4 separate regions of the Homo sapiens genome follow, and regions 1, 2 and 4 are each linked to region 3. Evidence: promoter capture Hi-C in 16 types of primary human blood cells and fetal thymus (Javierre and others, 2016). All regions are on one chromosome and are shown on one strand. The core of a region is centred on a gene start or on the middle of the fragment in contact, and the rest is flanking DNA. Distances in the headings are between cores, read along the strand shown. Region 1 holds the start of CNOT4 (CCR4-NOT transcription complex subunit 4). Region 2 holds the start of BRAF (B-Raf proto-oncogene, serine/threonine kinase). Region 3 holds the start of POT1 (protection of telomeres 1). Region 4 holds the start of TRIM24 (tripartite motif containing 24).

Region 1 (4,555 bases), core at 470-2,969, about 11 Mb after region 3:
GTAGATAACAATGACAGTGAGTTCCACCAAATGCATGTATGTGCACAGCTTTGTCATTCTTTTCCCAGCCCCCTTCTTTTCTATGAGAAAAATACGAGGAACTTAGGTTTATATAAAAATGTCGATTTTTCTTTTGCATACATAACTAATGGATTTTCAAGACAAGACAATTTATTCTGATAACTATCATCCTAGAAATGTCAAGAGAACTTCCCAAATCCAAAAATAAGAAGAAAATCTGATATTAACTGGAGAGGAAATTTCCACTCAAATCATAAATAAAATGTCATCAATTAAGCTGAACATCAATAAAACTCAGTCAAAAATCAAGCCTCAATACAGAACCCACACATAACCCACATGTAATCAAAATATCACTTATATTTGCTAGCGGAGTTCACAGATGAATTCTGTATGTGCGCCAGATTTATCTTATTTTGTAATGCTGGGGTTAATATTTATTGGTATAAATCAGGGCCCACACTAAGTGTCCTGGGGAGAGGCAATCCAAAGAACGCTTAGTAGCATGATAAAACCGGTCCAAAACGAAAAAAAAGAAAAAAAGCCAAGTCCTAACACAACAGAGCGAATAAGCGACAAATAGATCACAGAAAGCAAAACGAAAACGGTCCTCTCCGGAGTAGCCTGAATAAAAGATCTTCACTCATAACGTTTAATAGTATCCTACCTCACTTCATTCACTTCCCAACTTCCTTTTACTTTTCAAGGGCCACCACGGGGCTTCCCTTTTTCTGGAAGTGTATATTGAAAGGATCTGTACAGGAAAGAGGGAAGGAACGGACAATTCTCAAGAAGGCTGAGAAACAGGTGGGTTAGCAGGAGGAGCATAATCTAGATACTTAAGGGGCAGCTTTAAGATGACAGATGTGGTGGAAGGAAAGACTGCAAATCGGAAGCAGCTCTAGTGTGGCAGATACACTGTGGGCTGATTGCAAGCACCAGAGGGGGGCAAAGGCTAACTCCAGAGTGGTAGCAGTGGAGCAAAAAAACAAGCAGCAGGACGAGTGGGCAATGAGCAGTGGGATTAATGAGCAGCAGCAGCCAACACGGATCAGAGTGGAAGTGATGGCTTTGGTCTTGGGAGACGGGGGCCAGAGGGAAAGGACGTCAGACAGGGAACAGGGGATTGGGGAAACAAGGAGGGCTGAGACCTAAGAATCCTGCCCCGGTGAAAATGCAGGGGGAAAAGCTGGAGACCAAAAGCCGCCTCGGCTCCCCAATTAAAGAAATTCTCGAAGGAGAGTCGCTGCTTGCCGCCGCGCTGCCTTCTGACCCGCTCCCTTTTCCTTATGGTAACTGCTGTGGCGTAAAGGGGAGAGGGAGGAAGAGGAGGAGGAGGAAGAAGACCAAGGAGGAGGAGGGTGAAGATGAGGCGGGGGGTGGGGAGAAAGGGGGGTGCGGCCTGTACAGTCCCAGCGAAGCCTCCGCTCTCTCGTAGCCGGTCAGCCCCGGGTTTCCCCTAAGCCCAGCCCCGCATAGACTCACCCGCCTGCCTTGCCTCGCTTTTCCCTCAGCCGACTCCACGGGCTGCCGCGTCCTCACAAGAAACCACCGAACGAGCGTCGGGGAAAAAACTCTTCAGAACCGGGCCTGATTGCTTCAGCGAGTCCGACCTTTACGGCTGAGAGAGAGACTCTCAGCTTTCGGTGGGTTCCACAGCCAGACGGGCCACCATCTTACATTAGGGTAAGACTCCTCCGGCCTCCCGTGCGCAGGCGCACGCTGATCCGGCCAGGAGGGGCGGGGGAGGGGCGGGAGGAGCGGCGGGCGGCTGAGTGGGAGGTTGCGGTGGCCGCTCCCGCAGCACCCTGGGAGTTGAAGTCCTCGGAGGGTAACCTCCCAGGGGCACGCCGGGAGTTGAAGTCCTCTCTCAGAGGGCGGAGGGGATCGCCCACCTCACGTGGCTGCTGGACTGATGCCTTTCTTCGTGTTTTGCTTCCTTCTCTGCACGCGTGTGCTGCTTCAATGTCATTTGGTCGGCGGTTTTCACTAGTGATTCCGTGTCCTCGGTGTTTGCGGAAATGTGCTACCCCAAGACTGGGGCGAGGCTAAACAGTTTTTCGGGGAGCCCGGAATGTTTATTCTCTGCCCCGCCCACCAGGGATATCTAAAGGGGGCGGGGTGGAGGTGGAGGCAGGTTGTGGGTACGAAGAGCGCGGGATTTGATCCAGGGTGAGAATTTGATACAGACTTGGCGTCTGTTTGCGAACAAGGAGGAAACAGGCGCCTGTTTAATTCATTTCCCTGTCCTTGCGCATTTGGGGCCACCACCCTTGATCCCTTCTTCACTGTAAAATCACCAGTGAAGACATACACTAAATTGTTCTGTGCAGATTACCCAAGAGAACGGAACACCCGTGCACTTACAATAACGTGCTTCTGTTGGTGTGAATTTGAGAATTTGCGGACCTCGGTGCAAATTAGTGTTAGTTCGGTGTCCAGCCAGCACAGCTGTGTGCAAGTTTACAAACTACACACATCGGCACATCCCCAAGAACAATAAATGCAGCCACAATCCCTACGAGCACTGAGGAATCATCAGTCACAAAAGTCAGTCAATGTACTGGTCGCCCCGTTTGCATCCCAGAACTCTGGTGGAAGTGGCGCTCGAAGCAGTAACTTTTGCTTATTGCATGTATTCTTCACCCACTCATACAGCAAATACTCAATGAGCTCCTCCTAGCTGCCGGGTACTCTTCTATATATTGAGAATACAATGGTGAGCAAAATAGAAAAAATTCCCTGTCCCTATTCTAGTGATGTGTTGGGATGAGGAAGAGGAGAGAAGAGGCATTATTTTAAAAATACGTGATTAAAATGCATAGTATGTCATAACCGATTTTAAAAACTTAAAGCAGGGAAGGGGAGTAGGGAAAGAGGTTGCAGTTTTAAATTTACGAACTTAATTTCATAATAAGCCCTCAATTCATTGTTTTTTCTTTTTTTTTTTTTTTGAGACGGAGTCTAGCTCTGTCACCCAGGCTGGAGTGCAGTGGCGCGATCTCGGCTCACTGCGACCTCCGCCTGCCGGATTCAAGTGATTCTCCTGCCTCAGCCTCCCGAGTAGCTGGGATTACAGGCACGTGCCACCACGCCAGGCTAATTTTTATATTTTTAGTAGAGACAGGGTTTCACCATGTTGGTCAGCCTGGTCTCGAACTCCTGACCTCAGGTAATCTGCCTGCCTCGGCCTCCCAAAGTACTGGGATTACAGACGTGAGCCAGGGCACCCGGCCTCATTCTTTTGGTACATTGGTTTTCTGTGTTTCAGTTTCCTCACTATAAACCTAGAGACAACAGTTACTTGGGTAAAAATTAAAATATGTAGTGAAGTCACATTTTACCCAAAGTTTGAAATTATAGAATCATGAAATGATTACCTAGCAAGGAAACTTGGGAAATTATTTGGATTTCCCTTTAGGTAATTAAATGCCTAAACATTCAATATGGTTGACATTTTTATTTAAAAATGTGTTTATTGTTCTTGTATATATTACTGATTCTATAGTAGTATATAAACAAAGTAATGAAAAGAACAAAATAAAAAGAAGCCTTCCCATTATGAAAGATTAGAATCATCACAGTAAAAACTGGAAGGGATCTTAAGCATCACCTAATCCAGTGGCAACCTTATCTTACCCAACATTCCTTTTTTTAATAAATGTTTTTATAATATGCTCTTTGTTAGCCTAAAATGAAATTCATAGGTATATAAACTACCTATATACATGATTTCATCTGAAATCAAAATGATGTGCTATTTATAATATAAATGATATGAAGAAAATATTTTATAATAAAATTGTATTTCAATATATAAATGCTCAGCATGACCATTCTAGAAATACAGTCAAGTCATGGTTTGCTAGCACTTATAAATAAAATATCCAACACTAGGGGGCAATGCCACCCCTGTATTGAGACTGACAGTAAGGAGGTGACAGTTCCTAGGTCACCAATTGTAAGAGTCACTACCATCTCAGGCCAGTACTCCTTTTACTATACTACATTGCCAGTTTTCATATGTTTATGTATGCATATGTGTATATATATACTATCATATAGACTTATGTATGTAACACTTCATTCTCATATAATTTTAAAAGTTAACATTAAATTTGGCCAGGTGTGGTGACTCATGCCTGTAATCCTAGGACTTTGGGAGGCTGGGGCGGGAGAACTGTTTGAGGCTAGAAGTTCAAGGCTAGCCTGGGCAACCTAGGGAGACTCTGTCTCTACAAAGATAAAATTTGAAAAACAGCTGGGTATGGTGGTGCCTGCCTGTGGTTCCAGCTACTTGGGAGGCTCAGGTGGGAGGATCACTTGGGCTTGGAAGTTGAGGCCGCAGTAAGCCATGATCATGTCATTGTCCTCCAGCCTGGGCAACAGAGTGAGACTCTGTCTCAAAACAAAACAAAACAAAACAAAAAACATTCAGTTGTATTACTTTGCTTACCTAATGATTCCTAAGTGTGGAACCTATCTATTCACTTAACAAATCTATTTTGCCTTTAGGCATTGTGCTCAATGCTGG
Region 2 (4,989 bases), core at 266-2,765, about 16 Mb after region 3:
AATAAAAAAACGTAAATAATTTGACACAGTGCTAAGAGGCTGACTAATGCAAAAACAGGCTGAGAGAAGCAAGGACTGGAGAGGAAAAAGGAAAAGGAAAAAAATAGGACAAAAAGGAGGACAACACTAAGAAATCAATCAGACCTATAAAAATGGGTAGGAATAAAGAGGTGTGAATGCACAATGGACGACTAGCCAAAAAGTGCCAGTAGTGCAAGCGCGAAAAGAGCCAAGTGAAACCTGATGGAATCTTGACAGCTTCTGGGCTCAGAAAACAAGTAGCTCCAAAGTGTCCAGGAGGATTTGTGAAGATAACAACAGACAACAATGTTAGGGAGTGGTGAGATCAAGTACAGAGCCTCAAGAGGACCAGGGTAAGAGAAGTGCAAAAATGCTCTTAAGTGGGAGCTGGGGTTAGAAGGCAGGCAGGTCCGACAACTGGAAAATGAGCGGGCGGTAGATGGGAATAGAATGGGGGTTACCAATCAGCGACAGAGCGCTGACAAACATTAGGAACAGAGGACCAGAGACCAGAAAAGGCATCGGAAACTGCGATTTAGGATTGAAAAAGTAAAGACTAAATCAAAATAATTTGCTGGGTAAAACAGGTGAAGAGAAATCCCCAAATAGAAAAGTGAAAAAGGGCAGCGGACTGAGAAGGGGGGCAGTCCGGGAGAGGAGAGAGGAAATGATGAGCCCCATCATCCCCACGACCATGTAAGAATTACACGCGACAGTAACTCGGGCTGTTGTCTCAGCCCCAGCAACTAACCTATATCCTCCACGTCGAGGCCGCCGCCGCCCCCACCCCACAGAGATGCAGAGCTGGATACTTCAGCCAATCGTGACCTTCTCGGACCAACCCTGAGTTTCGCCCCCTATTGATAGCCTCCCGCTCAACCACCGCTGCCCCAATCCCCACATCTGGGGTGGGGGCCAGGGAAACCCCCCGGGCCATTGTGTGTGTTTACGTAGGAAGGCGCTGCATGACGGAGAGGGACACGGGGGCGATGCCCACCTCCCAGCCCGCGGAGCTGGCCCGAGAAGGTGGCTGAGGGCATCAAGCCCCCACCGCCGCCTCTTTCCAAAATAAACACCAGCCAGCCGCCGAGCCCGGAGTCGGGAGGGCGGCAGGGTGGCGCCAGCACTCACCTCCTCCGGAATGGCAGGGTCCGCAGCCGAAGAGGCCGCGGCGCCGGCGCCGGCGCCGGCCTCGGGCTCCATGTCCCCGTTGAACAGAGCCTGGCCCGGCTCCGCGCCGCCACCACCGCCACCGCTCAGCGCCGCCATCTTATAACCGAGAGCCGGGGCCCGAGCGGCCGCTGTCGGGCGGGGAGGGGGAAGGGAGGCGGAGAGCTGGGGGAGGCGGAGGCGGAGGCGGAGGCGGAGGAGCGGGGGGCGCGGGGGGCGCGGGGAGGAGCGGCCCGGGCGGCGCCGCGGGCGGAGGGCGCCTGGGCCACCTCAGGTACCGGCCCGCGGCCCCGGGCGCAGCCGAGCCTGAGGGGATTGGGGGAAGGACGCTAGGCGGGGGTGCGGGGGGGAGCGGGGGAAGGGGGCGGAGACGACGAGAAGTCGCCGCGGCAACGGCGTCACCCGCGTGTCACGGTCGTGACGTCACCCCGGTGCGTGACGTAATCTGAGGCGCGCCTTCGCGCCGTCGTCCGGGGAGGGTTTTTTCCCTTCTAACCACCCGCGCTCTCACACTTTGCCTCCGCTCCGCCGTTTCCATGGCTCCGGTTTCCTACTTTCCTCTTGTCTCCTCCGTCCTCAGCCTGTTCTGTAATGTGGGATTTACTAGAAGAGCAGGGCTGGTGTTCGAGGAGGAGAAGTTGAAATCCTAGAGGGAGGAAGGCGGGGAAGCCAATACTACTTGCTATTTCCACTGCAATGAACGTCTCTGTGTCATCAAAATAAGAACTTCAACCCCAAGGTTGAAACAGCCAAGCAGAATTTGATGGAAATATATTTAGGAACAGCTAAATTAGCAGTGCGACGCGTGTTTTCTTTTCATTGAAGAATTCAGCCAGTTAAAACGAGTCTAAATGGAAGTCTGAAAGCTTTTTCTTCATTGTTGAGGAATAAAATATTTCGTGTATTTTTCGTTTTCCAGATTCATTCATTTAACAAATATCAGTTGAGCACTTTCCATGCCGTAGGGCCTGTACAAGGCACATAGCATTCTAGACATCTGAAGCATCAAAACTAATCATTTTTATTTTGAAGAAAATCACTCAAAATATTTTATGTACTTTGTGCCTTTCATGAACAGAATATTCCAAGCATTCTCTGCAAAATACGCATGAAAACAATTGGGAGAGAAGAGGTCAATTATCTTTGAGAAGCCCAATTACAGAATGAAATTCAATTCATTATTAAAAATACATGGATCTAATAAAGAATAAATAATTGGAAAAGAAAAGTTTAAGGAAGAGAGAAACGGGAATGAGAAACAATTACTGTGGGCTCCCAATGGCCTGGAGTGAATCACCAAAGTAACCTAAACATGAAGTCATGAAAAACTAAGTGGATTCTGCCTTTTAGTACTTCCCATCATGGGGGAAGTCACCAGCGACCTCCTTACTGTATTTTGGATGATTCAAGAAATAGAAAGGTGTCCTACTGACTTCTGAAACAGGGTGTCTTCATATTGATTAGGGTCACCGTAAGCCTGGGAGCTGATGCTTACTCTCAGGTAAAGGATGCTGTGTGAGGCTGCTTGATGAATGAGAATACTAACATTCTTCTGCATTGAAAAAATATAACCTATAAGATGAACATTGTAGGCCGGGCGCAGTGGCTCACGCCTGTAATCCCAACACTTTGGGAGTCTGAGGCGGATGGATCACCTGAGGCCAGGAGTTTGAGACCAGCCTGGCCAACGTAGTGAAACCTCATCTCTATTAAAAGTACAAAAAATTAGCCTGGTGTGGTGGTGCACACTTGTAATCCCAGCTACTCAGGAGCCTGAGGCAGGAGAATCATTTGAACCTGGGAGGCAGAGGTTGCAGTGAGCCGAGATTGCACCACTGAACTCCAGCCTGGGCAACAGAGCCAGACTCTGTCTCCAAAAAAAAAAAAACATGAACATGGTATGCTTTGTTAACTTCATTGTACATTCTCCTCCAAGTAGGAAAGTTTCTATGAGGAAATAAATTTAAATCAAAAAGTGGCTTGGCAAATGTAGAGTAAATGATCACAAGGGATGATGTCATCAAGCTAAACTAATCTGAAGCACCCTTTACTATAAGGACATACTTAGAAGCAGACTGAAATAGCACCATTAGCCAGTCATGGCACCTTTTCCCCTTTCATCACCCTTTCATCACCCTTTCATCAGAAACACAACTGGCAAGATTTTTGTTAATTCTCTAACTGTCCTATTTCATTTTTAAAAAATTAGCTGCTAAAAATGTTATATCATTATAACACTTCCTTATAACATTAAAAGTTTTAAAGGCTTTTATCCTCACATTGGTTCCATTTTGAATTCTAGCCTTATTTGTCAGTATCAGTCTGTAGTTCAGATCTTCCATGATTATTTCTCCACAGGATGACTGGTCTCATCCATTTAATATTGATTCTTCTTAGCGTTCTACTCATTTGACATTTTCTGACCTTGCCTTAAAATTCTGGATATATCCTGTTTTACTTCCTTAGGCCATTCTAAAGTCCTACAGTATCCAGATGAGAAACGAGAGAAAGCATAAGCTTTGGAGTCCAAAGATCAGGATTTTAGCGTCAGCACTCCACACCTTAGCTATACAATCTCAAAGCAGGTAAGCTTAAATCCCTGTTTGTTGTTTTGTTTTTTAATCTATAAAATGAAGGTTATAATAATGCTAGCCCAACCTGCCAAACTATCATTGTGAGGATCAAACATTATACTTTCACCCTTTGAAAAATATAAAATTACCCTCTCAGTCAGAATTCAGACAAGGCATAGCAAAGATGGCTTATCTCTGCTCCATGATGTCTGGGGCTTCAGCTGGGAAGACTCAGTGCCTGGGGGTGTCTCAATGGTTGAAGACTGAAATCCTTTGGAGGCATATTTTCTGACATGGCTGGTGGTTGAAGCTGGGACCTCAGATAGGGCAGTCAGCCAGAATACCTAAATCTACTCTTCATGTGGCCTGAGCTTCCTCCTAGCATGGCTGCCTCAGAGTAGTCAGACTTCTTACGAAGCAGCTCAGGGCTTCAAATGCTAGTGTTTCAGTAAACAAGGTTAAAGCTGAATTGCATTTTATGATCTAGCCTCCAAAGCCACACAGCATGACTTCTGCTGCATCATTTTATATTATGAGCAAGTCAGTAAGTCGGGCTCAAATTCAAGGAGAGGGGATATTGAGCCCACTTCTCAATGAAGTGTCAAAGAATTTACAGCCATGTTTTAAAACCACCACGTCATGTTTAAAATAATAAACTGGCTATCTGCAGCCGCACACAAACCTTCTTCCAAAGCGTTCTACACCAGTCAACTTTCTCTCCTCTTTATTACTAGTAATCACCAAGACACATCTCAGTATTTGGCTGTGTCCCCACTCAAATCTCATCTTGAATTCCCATGTGTTGTGGGAGGGACCCCATGGGAGCTGATTGAATTATGGGAGTAGATCTTCCCTGCACTGTTCTCATGATAGTGAATGAGTCTCACAAGATCTGATGGTTTTAAAAACGGGAGTTTCCCTGCACAAACTCTCCCTTTGCCTGCTACCATCCGTGTAATACGTTGACTTGCTCCTCCTTGCCTTCTGCCATGATTGTGAGGCTTCCCCAGCCACAGCCATGTGGAACTGTAAGTCTAATTAAACCTCTTTTATAAATTGCCCAGTCTCGGGTATGTCTTTATCAGCAGTGTGAAAATGGACTAATACAGTATGCTAATGAACAAGCCCTTACCTTCTTTTTTCAGCTTCTGAGGCCTCCACTGCATGCATAAATAGATACAAGTCCTTTGCCATTGGACACAGCCTGTCTTCTGAGCACCTCCCC
Region 3 (5,103 bases), core at 366-2,865:
TGCCTCTTAACTAAACATCTTTCCTCTAATCTTGCATTCGCCAATATATTCTCTACCTAGGAGCAAAGTTTTTTGAACTCAAAGTAAATCATGTCTTTCTCCTGCTAAAACCTACTAAAGACTTCCCATAGCTTTTAGAGTAATATCCAAATTCCTCAACATGCACATAAGGACTGCTTTTTACCTCAAAGGAAGGTACAGCACAGTCTGTTATCCCGTAAGTTCCAGCTCAACTTTCGTGATCTGTCAGAACCAAAAGCTCTCTCATGTTCACACATCACAATGCTAATATCACACCTATTAATTTTAATTGGAGATCAGGTGATTGATCTGTCAGACCCCACAGAAATGTGATTATCTTTAGTTCCGGGACTATATTTATTCATCTTTGTACCTCAGAAACTTACTCCAATGTTTCACACACGAATTTGATAATTGTTCGCTAAATAAGTACTGAATAAGAATAACTTATTGAAATATTCAATCTCAAATGTTATGACAAAGATAAAAACCATACCTAAACCAGTTCTCATAAATAAACTCAACACTTAAAAACTGCATTCCTTTTAGTAGGAAAAAGCATTCTGAGTTATAGAAATTCTTACCTGAATATATTTCTTGCTATAATTGTAACCTGGCTGTAGGGATCCGAAATCTACTTTATGTAATTTACTCAGCGGCTGAACTTCAGGCACCCCATTGACTTCCTTTATTAATTCAAGTGGCATATCAGTTCTGCTTCACACTGATGTCCAAAGCAAATTCAACTAGGGAATCTGACAACTTGCTGCTGAAAATACAAAACCAGTGTTTTACCCAAAATGAAGTCAATAATTTGCTTTAAGTCTCTTTGACTTAGTTATGCTTTTCCTTATTATAGTTAACACGGTTCGGGGTTGGGGGGTGACAGGAGGATGGATTATTTTACAATTTTATTGCAAAGATCAATACAAAACATTCTTCCAAGGAACTGAAACTTAACCATTTTCTACTTAGCTGCGTAAAGTACCTCCAAAAAGCCAGTTTTAAGATCTGTAACGTCACTAACAAACGCTTTTAACATTGTGCTTTAAAATGTAAAATTTATTGGGGAAGAGGGAGGCTGAAAAATCGTGTTTTTTTTTAACCCCCACGGGAGCTGTAATATTGTATAGACAAACTGTGCACCAAAAGCATCGTACTCCAACATGTTTCTGTGGCCCCCTCCCTTCACCCGCTAAATAAATGAAGAAACAAAAATTACTGAACTGAGATTAACTTCTGCATCGTAGGCTCAACCTTATTTCACAGACCTCTTGACGGGGACACTCACTAGTGTCGATATCTAATTTTAATGTTTGCGCACCAACCTTCCCCCAAGCCACCTGAGCTCTGTGAGGGCGGGGACTTGGACTTAACTCCTGTCTGCTTCTCCCAAAACACCAAGAAAGATGCTGAACACAGCAGGCTCGAGATAAACACTCGTAAGAAAGCGTTTCTCTGCGATAATTACATCAAATTTTGATCTAAACTAATTCAATCCCGGGCCCGTTACGTCTGGCACCCACTCAAATGAACACACCAAACCTTACAAATTTCACTCACCCGTACTCTAGAAAGAACCCTAGGAAGAGTTTAGGCGGGCGCGCAGGTGACGTCACACGCACGCTGACGGTTCAGCTCCACGCATGCGTGCAGGATCCCTGGGCATAGTCGCTTGTTCTCCGCCCGCGGTGGACCAGCTGCGTAACGGTTCACACACTGATGGCGCCTGGAGGTTTGGCGAAATACTGACAGGATGCGACGTCAACGGGAGCGCAGGGCCAAGGTACAGGCCCCGCCCAGTCCGGTCACATCCCCCGGAATTCTCGCAGCTCCCCTTAGCTCCGCCCCCAGTGACTTTCCAGCTTTCGTGGCGGGAGGCAAGCTTAGGGGAAGCGGGCGGGTCCGCTGGGCGGGATTTGAGCTTCCCTTTGGTAGATTCGAAGCTCCTGTAGGCAGAGCCTTTCTTTTAATGTCCAGTTCTCTTCCTCCAAGAAATAGGCACCTACTGCAGTCTTTACAAGGAAGCATTTACAAGGATAACAATGTTATTTGGGAGTTTTTATAGTAATTTCGGGCATTGGCATAATGCCACCATTGAGTCTTGCTATTTACAGACAGATTTGATTAACCTTGTCATTGTTTTATAGGGCCATGATTTTGTGGTATAATTAATATTTATTATAATTTATTTTATAGGTTTATTATAGTTTATTTAATATTTATTATAACTTATAATTGATAAATATTATAATTTATCATTTATAATGATAAATTGTTAAACATGAATTCTCTGCTAATTCCAGATATATGCCTTCAATCATTTAAGTGAAATCATCCTAGTGTGAAACTAAATGTAATAAAGAATTACATGAATATTTCCAAGGCTAATTTGAACTAAAATATCTTCTTTATATACATATTTGCAGGAGGATATAGCTAACTTTTTTTTTTTTTTTGAGACGGAATCTCGCTCTGTCACCAGGCTGGAGTGCAATGGCGCAATCTCGGCTAACTGCAACCCCCACCTCCCGGGTTCAAGCAATTCTTCTGCCTCAGCCTCCCTAGTAGCTGGGATTACAGGCGCAGGCCACCATGCCTGGCTAATTTTTGTATTTGTTTAGTAGAGACGGGGTTTCCCATTTTGGCCAGGCTGGTCTCGAACTCCTGACCTTGTGATCCGCCCACCTTGGCCTCCCAAAGTGCTGGGATTACAGACATGAGCCACTGTGCCCAGCCAGCTATGTTTGAAGTGCCTTTTTAATCAACAGGAAGCATTCAGTATTAGCCCATCTCCTGTTTCCCCTCCCCATCCCTGTAGTTATATCCCACGCAGAAGCCGGGGTGACAAGTGCATGAACTCAGGAGCTGTCCATTTGAGGAAAACTATAGGGAAGGTTTAGATGCTATCCTCCTTCCATCTCTGGCTGCATCCGGCTGAGAAATACTATTCCTCCTTTTTATGTGAAGCCCTCCACATGGGCTTTGGACCCTGACCAATTTCATCTCCCTTCCATCATCATCAATATATTTTCTCTTAATGTATTTTAAGCTTTCCTTCTTTTATTCATTCTTTCCCGTCACCATTTAAACACATTCTCCCAGGCTCTTGCTCTGTCGCCCAGGCTGAAGTGCAGTGGCGAGATCATAGCTCGCTGCAGCCTGGAACTCCTGGGCTCAAGCTATCCTCTGGCCTCAGCCTTCTAAGTAGCTGGGACTACAGGCACAGGCCACCACACCCGGCTAATTTTTTAAAAAAATTTTGTGGAGACGAGTTCTCACTATGTTGCCCAGTCAGTCTCACACTCCTCTGTGGGTACTAAATATTTGTTGAATGAACAAATGCTGAGGAAAACTGTTTATCTTACTTCTGACTTCCACCCCTCCATCCCACCCCTGCCCCCCACCACCCCATTACACTTAAACTGCCCTTAGAAAAACCACTGAAGAACTCTTTATTGCTAACCCAAAAGGACATTTTTAGTCTCATATTTTTGAAAACATTCTTTGTGCTACAACATGGTCCTAGTTTTCCTCTTACCTTCTACCAACTGAATCTTTTAAAATTTCTCATAATCTGTTTAGCCTGTAAGTATCCATGTTCTGTAGAATGTGATGAAGATGTCTAATAGAGGTATACGTAAGTCCTTTTATTTTGTTAAAGTGGTTGTTCTCAGTTCCTGTGGGACACAACACTTCCTACACGTTCAAGTAACTTCCAATCTTATTTCTTCTGCATAATCTCCCAATTAGTGGCAGAGGCTCCAGAGCCTGTAATGCTTTCCCTCACATTAGCAATTAATTTCCACAAATGAAGAAAATTGCTCATGAATATACAGTACAATTTAAGATAATAAGAGAGGAAAAAAAGAGATTGAATCAACTGAATAAGGCAATGAAGACATATTAATGCCAAAACAATCCATTACTATTGTTCTATGCCTGTTGAAGCAGCATAAAAAAGCTACTCTAAGGCTAACAATTAATGTAATTGTTATTAGAAGTTATGACTTTTAAAGGTTCAATGAAAAAAGTTTTTATATAAAATCTGCAATGTAAAAATGTTCATTTTAAGAAAAGTTAAAATTAAATTTTCATTAATAAATAATGAAGACTAAAAGCAAAATGGGTAATTTTTAAGTGATGTATAAATATAAGGATTCAGTATAGTTATCATAAATAAATCAAACGTGAAAGAAATTAGTCTGCAAATTTCTGACACATCTTCCCTCTCATAGCATTTTCATATTATCCTTTACTATTTACTTGTTAATGTCTACATGTAAAATTGAATTGCCTAACATGTCCAGCACTTCAAATTCATTTCCTTTGCATTAATTGTGGGGTGATTAACCCATTCCTGTTTGCAGTCCATCTGTCCTGCAAGCTGTTATCATCAGGTTGCATCTCTAGAGCCTGACAATATCATCTTCTTACTCCTGAGATTTTCTAGGAATAATAGCTAGGCTACATTAGTTGGAGTTCATTTCCTTGTGTCTAATATTCTTTCTGCCCAATCCTAATGAACATCTAAATGGATTTGTAAAATCCTATTTCAATAAAGCATCAAATTTTTATATTGTTATGTAGCTGAGCCAGGAGATAAATCAAACATAATTTTTTCTCAAATGTATGTTTAAGTTACAAATTTAAATGGTAAAGCATGTAATCACTCAGTGCATACTAGGAAGCAAAATAAAGATATTTTTAAAACATAATATTAGGTACCACAAATTGAGAAAACATTATTATCCATTGAAGAGGTCTCTCAAAAGCTTTTGTACTTTAATAATAAATCTTTTTAATTTATTATTTAAAATATCCTAGGCCAGGCACAGTGGCTCACACCTGTAATCCCAGCACTTTGGGACGCCGAACCAGGCAGATCACAAGATCAGGAGTTCGAGACCAACCTGGCCAACATAGTGAAAACCTGTCTCTACAGAAAATACAAAAAATTAGCCAGGTGTGGTGGCGGGCACCTGTAATCCCAGCTACTCGGGAGGCTGAGACAGGACAATCACTTGAACCCAGGAGGTGGAGGTTGCAGTGAGCTGAGATCACACCATTGCACTCCAGCCC
Region 4 (4,924 bases), core at 2,296-4,795, about 14 Mb after region 3:
GGGGTTAGTTCAGACCCTGTATGTCTAAACACGCCTCACAATCAGAGTTCTACTGAAAAATGATTTTCTTTTTTCTTTCTTTTTTTTTTTTGAGATGGAGTTTCACTCTTGTTGCCCAGGCTGGAGTGCAATGGCGCGATCTCAGGTCACCGCAACCTCTACCTCCTGGGTTCAAGTGATTATCTTGCCTCAGCCTCCTGAGTAGCTGGGATTACAGGCATGTGCCACCAAGCCCAGATAATTTTGTATTTTTGGTAGAGATGGGGTTTCTCCATGTTGGTCAGGCTGGTCTCGAACTCCTGACCTCAGGTGATCTGCCCACCTTGGCATTCCAAAGTGCTGGGATTACAGGCGTGAGCCACCGCACCCAGTCCCGAAAAATGATTTTCTTTTCCTTTTTTTTTTTTTGAGACGGAGTCTTGCCTGTCACCCAGGCTGGAGTGCAGCGGTGCGATCTCGGCTCACTGCAAGCTCCATCTCCCGGGTTCACGCCATTCTCCTGCCTCAGCCTCCTGAGTAGCTGGGACTGCAGGCGCCCACCACCATGCCCGGCTAATTTTTTGTATTTTTATTAGAGACGGGGTTTCACTGTGTTAGCCAGGATGGTCTCGATCTCCTGACCTCGTGATCCGCCCGCCTCGGCCTCCCAAAGTGCTGGGATCACAGGCCTAAGCAAGCCACTGTGCCTGGCCGAAAAATGATTTTCTTAAGTGTCCCTGGAAGTTATAGAATTTCCACCCACTAGCACCTTTTGAGGGGTGGGATGAGAAATCTTACTAGCATCTAATGCTTTTTTTTTTTTTTGAGACGGAGTTTAGCTCTTGTTGCCCAGGCTGGAGTGCAATGGCACGATCTTGGCTCACTGCAACCTCTGCCTCCCAGGTTCAAGCAGTTCTCCTGCCTCAGTCTCCCGAGTAGCTGGGATTACAGGCATGCAACACCATGCCGGGCTAATTTAATGTTTTTAGTAGAGACAGGGTTTCTCCATGTTGGTCAAGCTGGTCTTGAACTCCTGACCTCAGCTGATCCGCCTGCCTTGGCCTCCCAAAGTGCTGGGATTACAGGCATGAGCCACTGCGCCCGGCCAGCATCTGATGCTTTTATTCTCCTTGCTGATGCCCTTCTCTTCCAGTTCAGACAGCTTTGATCTCCTCTCTCATAGGTGGTGGTAGTGGTGCAGTTAAGAAACAAGAAACAGCGCATCATCCAATTAGGCGGAAGCACAGGATGGATATGGGAAAGCAGTAACATCAGACAAGAAGATCAGATGGGAATAAAATTGTGGAGAGCTTTGGATGCAGTGGAGAGCCACAGAAAATTATGGGATAAGGGAGGGACATAGGATGAGAGCTGTAATTAAGGAAGAGTAATCTATTGGTAGTGTGGATCTTTGTGAAATATATTTGAACACGCTTTGTAGGGCAACAATATCCAAATAAAGAAATCATATGATTAAGAAAAACAAACAGTAAATTCATTTTCTGGACTTGAAGTTCCATATATGTGAACAAAGTACAATGTACGATTGTTTTACTCATGTGAAATTAGGAAGGCTAAAACGATGGAAGATCATTTTCTGTAAAACCATGGTGATTTGAAAAACTTTAAGCTAGTGGGTTTGATCAAATTACATGGAATTCTTTCAAAACCAGCCTATTCAATTTTACTTCTCAGTTTTCCTTCCCTACCACCATCATCTGGGGAATAAGAGGGACTTGTCTTTAGTAGGCTTGAATCCTGTATACCACCTATGTAATGAATTTTTAGCATATTAAGGGAGTTGATTTTTGAATACAAAATTCCATTCCTATTATGTGAATGTTTTCAAGGTGTAGCTTCAAAAATATACAATATGGTTTGAATTCTGGGGAAGGAGTGTTCAACTTTGGGGTGGCTTTAGGGGATAACAGATAAGTCAGAATTTTGAAGGAACTAAAACAAAGGGAACAGCGTGTACAAAGCAGGGTGGCCTTACAATTGCTGCAGCATGAAGCATGAGAGTCGCGGCGACTTCAGCTTGAGAGGCATATACGGACGAAATCGTGGAGAGATTTGTGAGTGGGTGAAGACCTGTGGGACAGACTTCCGTTTCTGGACCCACCCAGGTCAGAATCACTTGAGATGCTATCAAAATTGAATAACTGAATACGGAGGTGGCCCAAGCACCTGTTTTTCACTAAGCTTCTCAAGTTATTCTTATGCAAACTAAGGTTTAAGAGCTACTTCCATGCAAAAAAACAAACAAACAAAAAATCCCAAGCTTAAACAGGAACCAATGGGTGGGGGAGGCGGGAAGAGCTGTTGAATGTCTTGTGATTAAGTAAAAGAACCTCTCACTTGAGGCCTACGGAGGTTGTGTTTAAGGGCAAGGTCTTGAAGGAAGGCTACGTTGCCTAGCCCTCCCCCATTGCCATCCCATATAGTCCTCCAGGAAAACTGTGATTTTAGCAAAGCCTTTCATGACCCACTCCATCTTTCTCTAAAGTCCAGTACCGCTTCATTAGTATTGACAAAAAAAAAAAAAAAAGGTAAATACTTCTTAAAGTTACGTGTTACAAAATCTTGTTTCCTTCATTCCGTTTCTATTCTTCAAGTTCCTTAAAAGCTGCGCCATTTTTTGAGTGAAAAATGTGCGTAACTTCTGATATCAGCGTAGAGAGGTGAGGGAGGGAGGGAGGGAATAAAATAAGAGGGAGGGAGGAAATACAAAAGAATCCTGAAGTTATGAATTATTTGGGTAACAGTATTGAGGTTTATTTTTGCTTAATGATGCTATATTTATGCAATAAAAACATTTGTCAATCTGTATTAATTCCTGGGAAAACGAACCACTTTTAGTCACTTAAAAAGCAAATCACTGACTTTAAAAATTAATTTCACCTTTTTCATTGGGGAAACCCTTTAAAAATTTCCAACTTGCACGAGAACTTCCCCCCCTTATTCTTCATACTCATTCATTCTAGAGATGAGTAAAATTAGGTTGCAATATCCCTGCTGCCTCCAGAGTACCTCTTTCACACAGTATTTTAAAAAATTATTTCCTTGTTTGCTCTTCAGTACCTCCACTCCTTCCTCCTGTGACCCTCCGACCATATTTACTCCTCCTACAAGACCAGGTCTCCAGTAATGAAATCAGTTTTCCAAGCAGTTACTTAATTAACGGCATTGAGTAGACAAGTGAGGTCCCGCCCCCTAGGAGGAGCTAACACCGCGGACCGAATCAGGCGGATGGTCGTTAACAAATGAACCCTTAATCTTTTCAGAGGAGGAAACATACACAAAGGCCCAATCAGAAGCCGCGATTTCAGGCGTCCGGAGGGGGCGGGGCTGGGCAAGCACCTCCCACTTCCCAACCTCCCGCCGCGGCCGACGGAGCCTCGCGGGCTCCAACAGGTCCCGCCCCCTCGCCAGGCGCGGCCGCTATTGGGCGGCGCGCTCCACACCGAAGCCTCAGTTGCTGGGAGAGGGAGGGCGGGGGCGGGGGCGGGGCCTGAGGTGGGCCAGGGGGATGAAGAGAAAGGCGGGGAGGCAAGGGCGGGCTGGGCGTATTCCACGAGCGCCTCGGCGGTTGGCGAAGCGGACGGGGTGCAGCCTCCCCGGTGCGAGGAACGGTCTCCGCTGACAGATACCCTCCTTCCGGCCGCGCCACTCGGGAGGCGGATCCCGTGGGCCTGAGGAGGCTTCCCCCGCCCGGTTTGCTTTCCCTCCCTCGCTGGCGCTGCCGCGAGTCCACCGAGCGGCCTCTGAGGAGCAGCCGCAGGAGGAGGAGGAGGTCGTCGGGGGCGGCGGGCGGAGACCGCGCTCTCGCTTCCCCGGCGGCGGCAAGGGCAGGACAATGGAGGTGGCGGTGGAGAAGGCGGTGGCGGCGGCGGCAGCGGCCTCGGCTGCGGCCTCCGGGGGGCCCTCGGCGGCGCCGAGCGGGGAGAACGAGGCCGAGAGTCGGCAGGGCCCGGACTCGGAGCGCGGCGGCGAGGCGGCCCGGCTCAACCTGTTGGACACTTGCGCCGTGTGCCACCAGAACATCCAGAGCCGGGCGCCCAAGCTGCTGCCCTGCCTGCACTCTTTCTGCCAGCGCTGCCTGCCCGCGCCCCAGCGCTACCTCATGCTGCCCGCGCCCATGCTGGGCTCGGCCGAGACCCCGCCACCCGTCCCTGCCCCCGGCTCGCCGGTCAGCGGCTCGTCGCCGTTCGCCACCCAAGGTGAGAACCGGCCGCGGCCGCTGGGGAGCCCGGGGAGAGGGCCAGGAGGGGGCGGGCGCCCTTGTGCGGCGCGACCCGCTGTCATGTCGCCGCCGCCCGGGGTGCGCGGCGGGGGAGGGGCGAGCAGGAGGGTCTGTGCTGGCGACGGTGACATGGAGGGCCCGCGCTCTGCGGCGTGTCGCGCTCGGCCAGCAACTTCCCCGGGCGCTGTGGACTTGACCGCGCCGCCGCCGCCGCCGCTGCTCCGCATTCTCAACAGCCGGGCGGCCCCTGCCACTCGCACTTTTGCAGACCTCTGTCGGAGTCTCCTGCAGCCGGAATCTCGGGTTCTTTGCCGGCTGCAGCCAGTTAACTGCTACCCGCCCGCTGCCTCCACAAAGCTTTGTCCAGGTCCATATGATCCTGATCATCTCGTCTATACTCACGTTATTTGAGCTGCAGGGGAGAAGGGAGGGATGAAGATGAAGTGATGGTGACTTTCTTTGATGATTGATTGCAGATCGGATGTCATTTATTTCTTATCTTGCATGTTTGGGGCTCTTTACCTTAATGAGTTCCCAGTTCTCTTCCCTCTCCTCTGCTGGGGACAAAGGAACCAAGAGACGTTGTTTTGTTGTGTGTCTCTTTCAAAGGTTTTATTTTGAGACGGCGAAGAGAAATAATACAAAGTGATTTGGGTTTTCTGGTATTTTATAGATAAAGCTGGAAGTTACTGTTCTCTTTGT

Evidence for each region. The method cuts DNA at HindIII sites, captures the fragments that hold promoters and counts their contacts. A CHiCAGO score of 5 or more calls a contact.
Region 1: a contact is called between the fragment with the promoter of CNOT4 here and the fragment with the promoter of POT1 in region 3, in 1 of 17 cell types (non-activated CD4 T cells). The highest score is 5.2, in non-activated CD4 T cells.
Region 2: the fragment with the promoter of BRAF here is called in contact with the fragment with the promoter of POT1 in region 3 in 2 of 17 cell types (total B cells and naive CD8 T cells); the score reaches 7.8 in total B cells.
Region 4: a contact is called between the fragment with the promoter of TRIM24 here and the fragment with the promoter of POT1 in region 3, in 2 of 17 cell types (total CD8 T cells and total B cells). The highest score is 9.3, in total CD8 T cells.

The regions. Positions count from the first base shown.
Region 1 is chr7:135,508,383-135,512,937 of GRCh38, forward strand. It overlaps CNOT4 (CCR4-NOT transcription complex subunit 4), which reads right to left and starts at 1,720. Exons shown (of 12, transcript NM_001190850.2): 1 at 1,507-1,720. RefSeq lists enhancers at 790-1,695, 1,466-1,665, 1,696-2,600, 1,976-2,095, 2,246-2,415 and a silencer at 1,666-1,905. The HindIII fragment of the contact is 7,472 bases long and covers 1-4,555 here.
Region 2 is chr7:140,923,414-140,928,402 of GRCh38, forward strand. BRAF (B-Raf proto-oncogene, serine/threonine kinase) reads right to left here and starts at 1,516. Exons shown (of 18, transcript NM_004333.6): 1 at 1,153-1,516. The coding sequence starts at 1,290. It overlaps LOC105375536 (a long non-coding RNA gene), which reads left to right and starts at 1,679. Exons shown (of 5, transcript XR_002956518.2): 1 at 1,679-3,089; 2 at 3,658-3,776. RefSeq lists a silencer at 1,339-1,408. The HindIII fragment of the contact is 2,638 bases long and covers 1-2,055 here.
Region 3 is chr7:124,928,210-124,933,312 of GRCh38, forward strand. It overlaps POT1 (protection of telomeres 1), which reads right to left and starts at 1,616. Exons shown (of 19, transcript NM_015450.3): 1 at 1,585-1,616; 2 at 606-790. It overlaps POT1-AS1 (POT1 antisense RNA 1), which reads left to right and starts at 1,664. Exons shown (of 8, transcript NR_125719.1): 1 at 1,664-1,807. RefSeq lists enhancers at 1,552-1,851, 1,606-1,900. The HindIII fragment of the contact is 3,988 bases long and covers 1-1,904 here.
Region 4 is chr7:138,456,714-138,461,637 of GRCh38, forward strand. It overlaps TRIM24 (tripartite motif containing 24), which reads left to right and starts at 3,546. Exons shown (of 19, transcript NM_015905.3): 1 at 3,546-4,199. The coding sequence starts at 3,836. RefSeq lists enhancers at 2,001-2,511, 2,915-3,697 and silencers at 3,208-3,597, 3,658-3,907, 3,938-4,417. The HindIII fragment of the contact is 2,319 bases long and covers 2,259-4,577 here.